Linked DNA regions of Homo sapiens: region 2 is linked to region 1. Evidence: promoter capture Hi-C in 16 types of primary human blood cells and fetal thymus (Javierre and others, 2016). All regions are on one chromosome and are shown on one strand. Each heading gives the region's core, a stretch centred on a gene start or on the middle of the fragment in contact. The rest is flanking DNA. Distances are from core to core; before and after follow the strand shown.

Region 1 (4,930 bases), core at 1,471-3,970:
GACTTTTTCTTGGATAAAATGGAGTCCAGGGTCCCACATTAAAGGAAAAGGGCCCTGATTTCAAGGGTGATGTGATACGATACTATGTTGGTCAGTCAGTTCAGGAAGGGAGATGGGCTGGATATCCCTCAGAGACAGAAGAAATTTTGTATGCAGAATCAAAGCATGACAGAGGATGTCAGAGCTGTTACGCATTGTTAGCTAAATCATTGGGAACATAAGCAGTGGAACTGGAGGCTTCAAGTTCATGTAGATCTGAAACCTGCTTAATCTTTTTGGATATGTTATTGCAGAATTTCTCCTCTTAATCTTTATATAAGCTCGGTTTTTGTTTGAGCTATTTTTGGTAATAAGACTTAGGAGCCTGACACCTTACCTGAAGACTTTGGTACTATGATCAGGTCCCATGTTGCTGTGGTGTAATCCTTTATCCTTATTTCTACTAAAACCTGCCTGGTTTTGTGCTTAATGAAATGGTAATAGTTTGATCACCTTTCTAATGTCAAGATATCTCTTTATTTCTCCAAAGTCTCTGGTTGGTGAGGAAAGCAGGGACCTAAAGTTTAGATAATTTAGAAAAATTGTGCCTTGGAGAGCAGATCCAAAAACTGCTGCCCATTTGTTGTGAAGTTTGCCCCATTCTGAGACTTTGGAGAAGTGAACAAAAGGGAATGCTGGTTAAATTTTTGACACCTCTTCAACCAAATAAACCTTAAAATTGGAATGACCTTCCCTTTTCCCTCTTTTCTGTCTGCCTTCCTTTTCTTTACCTCAGGCTCTGATCTTGGGGCTAGCTTTTCCTCTCTCTACTCTGCCTTCATCTGAAAACAGAATAGATCTGATTTGTAACTTGAGAGATTATAGATTCACTAATGGTTTCTTCCTGAATATGGTTTTAAAAAGAGAAAAATACATGAGGGAATAGAGCAGATGCTGATTATGAAGTGGAACAGTGGATCTTTTGGAAGTTTTCTTCGTCTCTTTATCCTCTATAACCTTCCAGAAAGATATTCAGCCTTACTTGCCAGGATTCTCTTCTTGAAGCCTAATTATTCTCCTCACTCATCTTACTTCCCCTAGATCTTTGAACAGTGTTTTCCAATTTGTGAGGATTTTTTTTTTTTTCTTATTAACCTCTTTCATCCCATTTCAGCAGCTGTTCCTATGTTGGTCAGAAGTCTCTAACCTCCAAGCCAGATGAAGTCCTCCCCTTCCTATCTCATTATAGTCATTCTCCACATACTCTTTGAGCATGAATAGTTCAGGATGCCTTTTTCCCAATTCAGTTTTAAAATAGTAATTCCGTTTGGAGATGGAACAGACATTGAGGCTTGTAATTGTTTACCTGAGATCTTAGTACCCTTCCTTCCTCTCCCCGTTTCCCTACTATAGTTGATCCAGCATCCAGATGTGGTTAACTGATTCCAATTCCTGAAGCTGTGACATTCTCTGCATACCTGGAAGCTCTTAATGAGGGAGTCTATAAAAGCTGTGGGGAGAACTAGCTTCCTCAGCTGTAAATCTGTACTTTTTTATGGTTCTCTAGGATTATTCTTTTTTTCCACTCTCACTCTAAACTGCCCAGCCCCCCACCCCACCTCTTAAGAACTGCTGAAGATAGAGGCTAGAAGCTTCTGTGAGGATGAGGGCTATAGGAAGGAAGGTGTGAATAAGGGCAGGACTTCTTGGTGTTGAGCTGAGTTCTCTTGCTGTGTCTGATATGAGGAGTGAGGGAGGAACTTAAGGGAGGATAACTTTTTTGCTGTTCTCTTATATGAGGGCCTCTGGCAATGCCACTTATTTCTGATTATTGGAATCCCCCCAAAATTTAACCTCCCCTTCTCTTGCCATATCTAGACTTTTCTTGTTTTTCCCTTCCAAAGGGATTTAAAATTACAGGTTTCACATCTTTCCAGATTCTTTGAGTCCAAGGTGTCCCTAACTTTCTTGTTATCTCTTTCCCTTATGTTATTCCTGTATTTAGGTTTCTACCTCCCGGATCACTTTCAATAGGATAGATTAGAATGTAATATTGTTTAGCAACTACTTAGGTTTAATTTCTTATTCTACCACACTAGCTCTGAGACCCTGCGCAGATAATCATTCTCTTTTCAGACTGTACCAAAAGGAACCCCATTGTGAAGGTTGCTGTGTGAATTAAGTGATATTCTCATATCATGTATTCACACTACAATTTGCTTACCATAATTTGCATAGTAATTATTCAATAAATATTAGCTTTTACTGGGTGATCAGGGTACTGTGGAAATACATATTTCTTTCCCTGAGTAGGTTCTAGCTAGGTATGAGTGCCCTAGTTTGAACATGTTTGTGTGTGCATACACCCAGTTAATGCAGTCGTATTTTGAGAAAAAGAAAAGGCAGAAAGAGTCCCATTCACTCCCTCAAGCCCAGCTCACTGGCAGGAAAGCTGGACATTGTTGCTTTGGAGCATTGATTTTCCTGCTTCTACGCCACTACAGACCAGAAGCTGTAGATGCCACTGCCTGCTGATTCTTAGCTTGGGGCCCCTGCCATTTAAAATATAGGCAAGGTCAGAGTATAGGATAGCTTCCCATGCCTTCGGTTGGAGGATGTTTTAGGATAAAGAAAAGACTTGTAAAAAGTCATCTTGAGTAGTCTTTTTTTGGGTGTTCTCTCAATATAGGAAACAAATGAGCCACAGGGAGAGAAAACCCATTTTCAGCTCAGGCCAAAGTTAGGGGTAGATGTGGATATGGTTCCCTTGGGAAGATAGAATACATAACACTTCTGCTACTCAACCACTTCCAGCCTTAGTCTTGTAGTTGGTCTCGAGTGGGGTCAGTGTGCTGATAGAACTGATAAGACAGGGAAAACATGGCAGTACATTGAACCCGCAGTAGCGCTGTCCCCAATTCTGGATCAGGTTGATGTCACAGGAGCTTTCCTTATTTTTATTTTACTTTAATTATTTTTAGAGACAGTGTCTTACTGTGTTGCTCAGCTTGGAGTACAGTGGCTATTTACAGGCCCAATTATAGCACACTGCAGCCTTGACCCTCTGGCCTCAAGTGGTCCTCCTGCCACAGCCTCCTGAATAGCTGGAACTACAGGAGCACACCACTGGGTCCTGCTTTCCTTTTTTTTTTTTTTTTTTTTTTTTTGGAGATGGGAGTCTCACTCTGTCACCATGCTAGAGTGCAGTGGTGCGATCTCAGCTCACTGCAACCTCCGCCACCTGGGTTCAAGCGATTCTTCTGCCTCAGCCTTCCATGTAGCTGGGATTACAGGCGCACGCCACCACGCCCGGCTAATTTTGGGTATTTTAGTAGAGATGAGGTTTCACAATGTTGGCCAGCATGGTCTCGAACTCCGGACCTTGCATGATCCGCCCGCCTCGGCCCCCCAAAGTGCTGGGATTACAGATGTAAGCCACTGCGCCCAGCCAGCTTTCCTTATTTTTGAAAAATGTGAGTCAGGCAATATTCTTTTGCCATTCCCAACTCATATTCCTGGGGAATTGTGCTCTAGGTACATGGGAAAAATTTTTACAGTGAACTGAAAGAATATTTGAGATGCTATTTTAGCCACTCTTGTGTAACAAGGCAAGTTCGTTGGCTATGTTGGTTTAGATTTTTGTCAAACTTCGTTGAGGAAACCTAGGAACAGGGACTGCAGGAGAATAGGACACTAGCTGGATCATCTCAAGAGAACCTTTAGATCTTCCATACTAGCTGGATCATCTCAAGAGAACCTTTAGATCTTCCATTCTGTGGAGGCTGGGAGAGGGGTCTTGTTGTCTTTGGGACTGTTTTGGCTCAAGCTTTTCAGAGAGGGGTTGTTCTAGGTACCCCCAGTTTCCTGTCCTCTTTCCATCCTTCCTTGGCCTGCATGTCCCAAACCTTATACCACCATGCCCTTAGTGTTTTCTGTCTTGCTCCAGGACCCCATCTTCTTAGTCATTGAACACGAGGTTTCCTGTCTCAGATCCTCTTCACCTCCGGTTCTCCAAGGTGTAAATGTGGCACTTGATTAGGGAGAAGAGCTCAGCACTGAATTCTAAACTCTTTGACCGCTTTTATTTTTTTTTTCAGGTTCAAGTGCTGGATTGTGTCATGTGACCATCCCAAAACTCAGAGCACCCTATGGCCGTCTTTGCCCTCTGTCACATAACTTGAAAACTGCCTGATGGCCTTTTTGCAGTGGTTCCCTCCAGGAAGCCTTGATCTCAGTTGAAGAAGTTCTTTCCTGGCATTCCAATGCCCCTGTCAGCTCCATACTCCTCAGACACCCTTAACAAAGGCTGTCATGCACACAATGTGACAAATACACAAAATAAATGATAATTACACTAATAATGATATGTTCAGAGGGGCACTGGCCAGGTCCACACACATCATAAGGTGGGAGGGGGTGCTAACTCCCACTGGGTTGCTGAGCTGTGCCCCCCAAGTCCCTTCACTCTGTGCCTCTTTGGGGGTAGGGAGGAACAGGGGAATGAGACTTCAGCTCACAGATTTATGTTCATAAGAGAAAGACCCCTGCCCCCCCCCCACCCACCACACACACACAAAGGTCTTTATTTGGTGGTATTTAAGGAGCTGTATTCTAAGTGTCCCCCATATTTAATGCCCCAGCTCTCTAGAATCTGTAGAGGGAAGATACCTGATGCTTATTGCCCAATCCCTACTCTGCCAAGATCACGAGGCATTTGACCTTGGAGGGAGGTATCTGTTCTTCACTTCTCTGTTCCTTTCCTTCCACCAAGGAAATGTGAGTGGTGTTGATGGCCGGGTGTGTCTTGTCCTTCAGGATTGGGGCAGAAGGAAGGATGAAGAACAGGGCCAGAGAGGCTTGGGGTTAGCATAGCTGCTATATGGGTGAAGGCAAGCTGAAGAGCCTAACAGCCCTGCCCATTCCTCTACTGAAAGATCTTGTTTCACTTTCT
Region 2 (4,451 bases), core at 298-2,797, 2.1 Mb before region 1:
ATTTAGCTCAGAAGTCACCCAGTGCAATCTCACTCTACACCACTCTTGCCGGCCTTGACTTGAACAGCTACCATTGTCCCAAGGCAGCCCATGTCACCTGTGGACAGATGTAGATCACTGGAAAAGACCTGATATTGAGCTGAAACCAGCCTTTCTGGAGCTACCACCGCTGGGGAACAAAAGCACCCACAACCTTGAGCAGAGACTCCAGGAGCTGTAGCCAGCGGAGCGTGCCCCGAGGCCTAAAGAGCAAGTGGGGAAGGCAGCCTGAGTCCACAAAGCTGAAGCTCCTCCGAGAGACCTCCATCCATCTAAAGGAAGCTGGGACTGTGGGGGCAAAAAGAGAGGGGTAGGATGAGGGAGGTAGGGAGGAGGGGCGGAGTCGGGGCCGCCTAAATGGGAGTAAGTCGGTGGGTGTGAGGAAAGCCCAGCACCTCAGGTCTCATTTTCAGTGTTTTGGGGGACACAGTCCCGAGGTCAGTTCCAGCTCTTATACTCTGGAGTCCTAGGTCCGCCCACACGCACACACCCCTTTCGGGATTCGAAGGTTGTACTTTTTTTTTTTTTTTTTTGAGACAGAGTCTCGCTCTGTCGCCCAGGCTGGAGTGCAGTGGCGCGATCTCGGCTACCTGCAATCTCCGCCTCCCGGGTTCAAGCAAGTCTTTGCCTCAGCCTCCCGAGTAGCTGGGATTACAGGCGCCCGCCACCACGCCCGGCTAATTTTTTTGTATTTTTAGTAGAGACGGGGTTTCACCATCTTGGCCAGGCTGGTCTTGAACTCCTGACCTCGTGATCCACCCACCTCGGCCTTCCAAAGTGCTGGGATTACAGGCGTGAGCCACCGCGCCTGGCCTCGACGGTTGTACTTTTATGTGACTTGGTACGTCCTTGATTCTAGGGCTAAGCAGGGGGGTAAGGTAACTTCCGATCCGCCCCATCCCCTGCTGGAGTCAGGTTAGGCTTAGCGGCTTGTCTTGGTCACCCCTGAAGGGGGAAACCTTTCCACCTTCCCCGAGTGCGCCCTCCGAGAAAAGAACACCCCAGCACAGAGCACCAGAACGTGAGCTTCGGAGCGGCCTTTTAAATAGTTGGGAAGGGGGTGTGGCCGAGGAGACTGGGAGGCCGCAGTCTGGCGCGGGGGGAGTGGCCCGGGGGCGTGGCCGTGGCGCCTGGAATGTTGTTAGGTCCTCTCACCGCATAGTAAGGAGGGGCCACGCCCCTTTTCTCCAAGAGAGCCAATCGGAGCACCGGAACGGTTTCAAGTCTCCCCCGCCAGCCTGCCCGCCCGCCACCCCACCCCCCTTGAGGATTCGCTTTTTCCGTAACAAAATAGCAAAGCTCCCGACTGTCCGCAGCCCCGGCCGCTCACAGATGGAGGGTCCCAGGGCCTAGGACGCAGCCCCCAGCGGGAAGCTCCAGCTGGCCGTGAAGAGGCCGAGTCGAGAGCCGGGAGGCGCGCGGGGGTGGGCGCTGCAGCCGCGGGTTGTTTATCTGGAGTACGGAGGGGAGGGGGGAGCCTGGAAACCGCCCCGTGTCCCATTTCCTCCTCTTGTTTTCGCTCCGGATTCTCCATGTTGGACCCAAACTGAGGAGCCCGGAGCTGCCGCTGGGGGATCGGGGCCGGGGGCACCCGGGGGAGCCGCTGCCCGGGCCGCCCGCCCTTTGTACAGGCCGCCTCCCTTCCCGGTCCGGGGAGGAAACGAGAGGGGGGATGTGAACAGCTGTGGAAGTCGGAGTCTCGGGAGCCGGAGCGGGCCCCCGCCCAGGCCCCCCAGCCCAGCCCAGCCCGCGCGCCCGCCCGTCCTCCCGCCCAGCCAGCCCGGGCCCGCGGGATTGTTAGATGGAACACGGCTCCATCATCACCCAGGCGCGGAGGGAAGACGCCCTGGTGCTCACCAAGCAAGGTAGGGGCAGCAACTTCCCAAAACTTTGCGTCGCCCCCGGGCGCGGAGGGGGCTAGCACAGCCCCGAACCCAGGTCTCGGCCCTTGACCTCCAGGGCTTAGAGCCAGCGATCCCGACTGGACCCCTCCGGTCCATCCGCCCCCGCATCCCGGCTGGCACTCAGACCTCCGTGGGGGTTGCACGGGGATCCCGGCGCCCGAGCGGAAAGGGCGTCTTCGGCGCAGCTGTCACCCTGTCCCGCAACCCCTCCCCCTCGGGGCTGAGAGACGGAGGGGTAGCTCTCGAAGCACTGGGCCACTCCGCGTCCACCGCCTCCGGAGTTGGGGGTGGGGTCGTCACTTTCCTTCACCGCCGCGCGCGGCTGCCCCGGGATCGCGGGGAGGGGTTAGGAAGGTGACAGAGGGAGCCCCAGGTGGAACGGAACCGAGACTGGAGTCCAGCACTTGCAGGCCCCCCCAAGCCCGAGGTCGTTCGGGCAGCTAGCTGGCGGTGACGGCGTCCGGCGGGACTTGGGACCAAGTTCACCTCTTGGAGGCGGGGGCGGTCGCGGTGGGGGAGGGGCCCGGGCCCTGGCGCACCAGACGTGGCGGGTTCCCGGCTCAGCGCAGGCCCCGGGACCTTGGCGGCGTCGGGCTCCCTCCCGGCTGCCTCTGACCAGTTTCGCTGAGCAAACAAGCCCGACCCTGAGGCCCGGCCAGAGCCCCTCCCTGCCCGGTGCGCTCCCCCGGGGCCGGCGCTGCACACACAGAGCCGCGTTTGTTTAGCCCGGGAGCGGTGTCCCTGGTTACATAATTCGCCGGATGGCATCAGACCCGGCGTGGTTCTGAATCGCGCAGCGAAAAAGTGCGAGTTCTCTGTGGGCAGCGGCTGGCGGCCCCCGCCTTCCAGAGCGTCAGGTGGAGGCGCGAGGGGGCCCGCAGGCCCTCGCGGGGGTGAGGCGGAGGCCGAGGCCTCTCCCGGGGCGGGAGAAAGCTGGGGCCCGAGGGTGGAACCTCTTAGTTTGGTCACAGTGGGAGACTCGAAACTCTTTCCCCCTCCGCCACGTTCTTCTTTTGGCCTTGAGGAATGTGTCCAAAATAGCGGCAGATTTTCCGCGGGGTGTAAGGACGAGTGTGGCGTTTCTCTAGAGAGCCCCCCGACCGGGGCCACCTGGCCCCGGAGGCTGGGGCGGGAGCTGGCTCCTGGGGCCGAAGCCGGAGCGCTCCCTCCCCTTCTCCACCGAGCGCGAAGGGCCGGTGCTGCAGTTGAACACACTGAGGCCTAGAGCCTGGTGGGCGGCCAGCTTCGGGGCCTCGTGCGCCCCACGTCTCCCCGTTTGGCAACATTAGTCAGCAGGTCACTAATTCCTGGGGTTCACGTTCCAAGGAGCTCCCCCAACTTCCCTAGGGGCAAATCCGCTGAGTTGGTGGTGTCAGCCTCTCCCAAATTCCCTCAGTGGAACGAGAGGAGCTGGGAGGGGGGAAGGGTGGGGGGAGGGAGGCAGTGTGTTCCTCTTGCATCACTGGCCGGACTTTAAATAAGCCTGCCCTGAGAAGGGATGGCCTTGCCTACTCAGATCCCAACCCCCGAGAAGGCTCCGGCCTCCCTGACCTCGGTGTTGCCATGATTTCTGCTCTCCTGGCTGCATCACTAACCAGGCTGTGACCCAGGCAGCAACTTCACCGCCTCTGCTGGCTGCTCAACTGTGCTGATGGCTGAAAAAGGAAGGGAGCCTGCGTGTGTTTATAGCTCACTCCTGACTCTTCCCACTCCCTTTTTATCCCAGGAAAAGACCCTAAGAGCTAGCCAGAGGGGAAGAAACCTAGATGTGGGGGGATTCAAGAGGGGGCAGTGGTGATGAGTAGGGGGAGGAGCCCTGTGCTTCCCCACTAGGTCTTCCTCTCTTGCAGGGACTCTCTTGCAGGGAGTGTGCCTTGGGCATCGTGGGGCCACGCGAGGAGTAAGGGAAAGCTGGACTGCGCCGGGGCATCTTAGAAATCAGAGCTGGAAGTTTCATCCACCAGGGTGAATGGCAGGCTACAGAATAGATAACAGCAGAAAGCAAAGCAACTGGCTTGACAGTGTTAAGTTGCTGGTGTTGGATTTTCTTGGAGTTAATGTTTCTCCTTTTTTGTGTGTGTGGTTTAAGCCAGCAGCCACTGGGTCTCTCCCTCCCCATGTAATTTTTTATTTTAATTGAGATGGAGTCTTACTCTGTTGCCCAGGCTAGAGTGCAGTGGCGCAATCTCAGCTCACTGCAACCTCCGCCTCCTAAATTCAAGCAATTCTCCTGCCTCAGCCTCCCAAGTAGCTGGGATTACAGGCGCGCGCCATCACGCTTGGCTAATTTTTTTGTATTTTTTAGTAGAGACAGGGGTTTCGCCAGTTGCCCAGGCTGGTCTCGACTCCTGAGGTGATCAGCCCCCTTCGGCCTCCCAAAGTGCTGGGATTACAGGCGTGAGCCACCGCGCCCGGCCCCTCCCCATGTAATTTGATTGCATTCCAGAGAAGACAGACTTTCTTCCTGGGCTGCTTAGGCACCCAGCAACCACTAAACCAACTTTCTGA

The links. Contacts are between HindIII fragments. The CHiCAGO score rates a contact against its expected background, and 5 or more counts as called.
Region 2: the fragment with the promoter of CTDSP2 here is called in contact with a fragment that was not itself captured in region 1 in 1 of 17 cell types (monocytes); the score reaches 5.8 in monocytes.

The regions. Positions count from the first base shown.
Region 1 is chr12:55,751,987-55,756,916 of GRCh38, reverse strand. It overlaps GDF11 (growth differentiation factor 11), which reads right to left. Exons shown (of 3, transcript NM_005811.5): 3 at 1-4,930. It also overlaps a transcript of SARNP not described here. Among named protein-coding and RNA genes, the nearest start is that of GDF11, 11 kb to the right of the region's middle. The HindIII fragment of the contact is 2,174 bases long and covers 1,634-3,807 here.
Region 2 is chr12:57,843,825-57,848,275 of GRCh38, reverse strand. It overlaps CTDSP2 (CTD small phosphatase 2), which reads left to right and starts at 1,547. Exons shown (of 8, transcript NM_005730.4): 1 at 1,547-1,904. The coding sequence starts at 1,841. RefSeq lists silencers at 1,066-1,245, 1,316-1,395, 1,406-1,835, 2,426-2,725, 3,056-3,105. The HindIII fragment of the contact is 5,566 bases long and covers 1-4,451 here.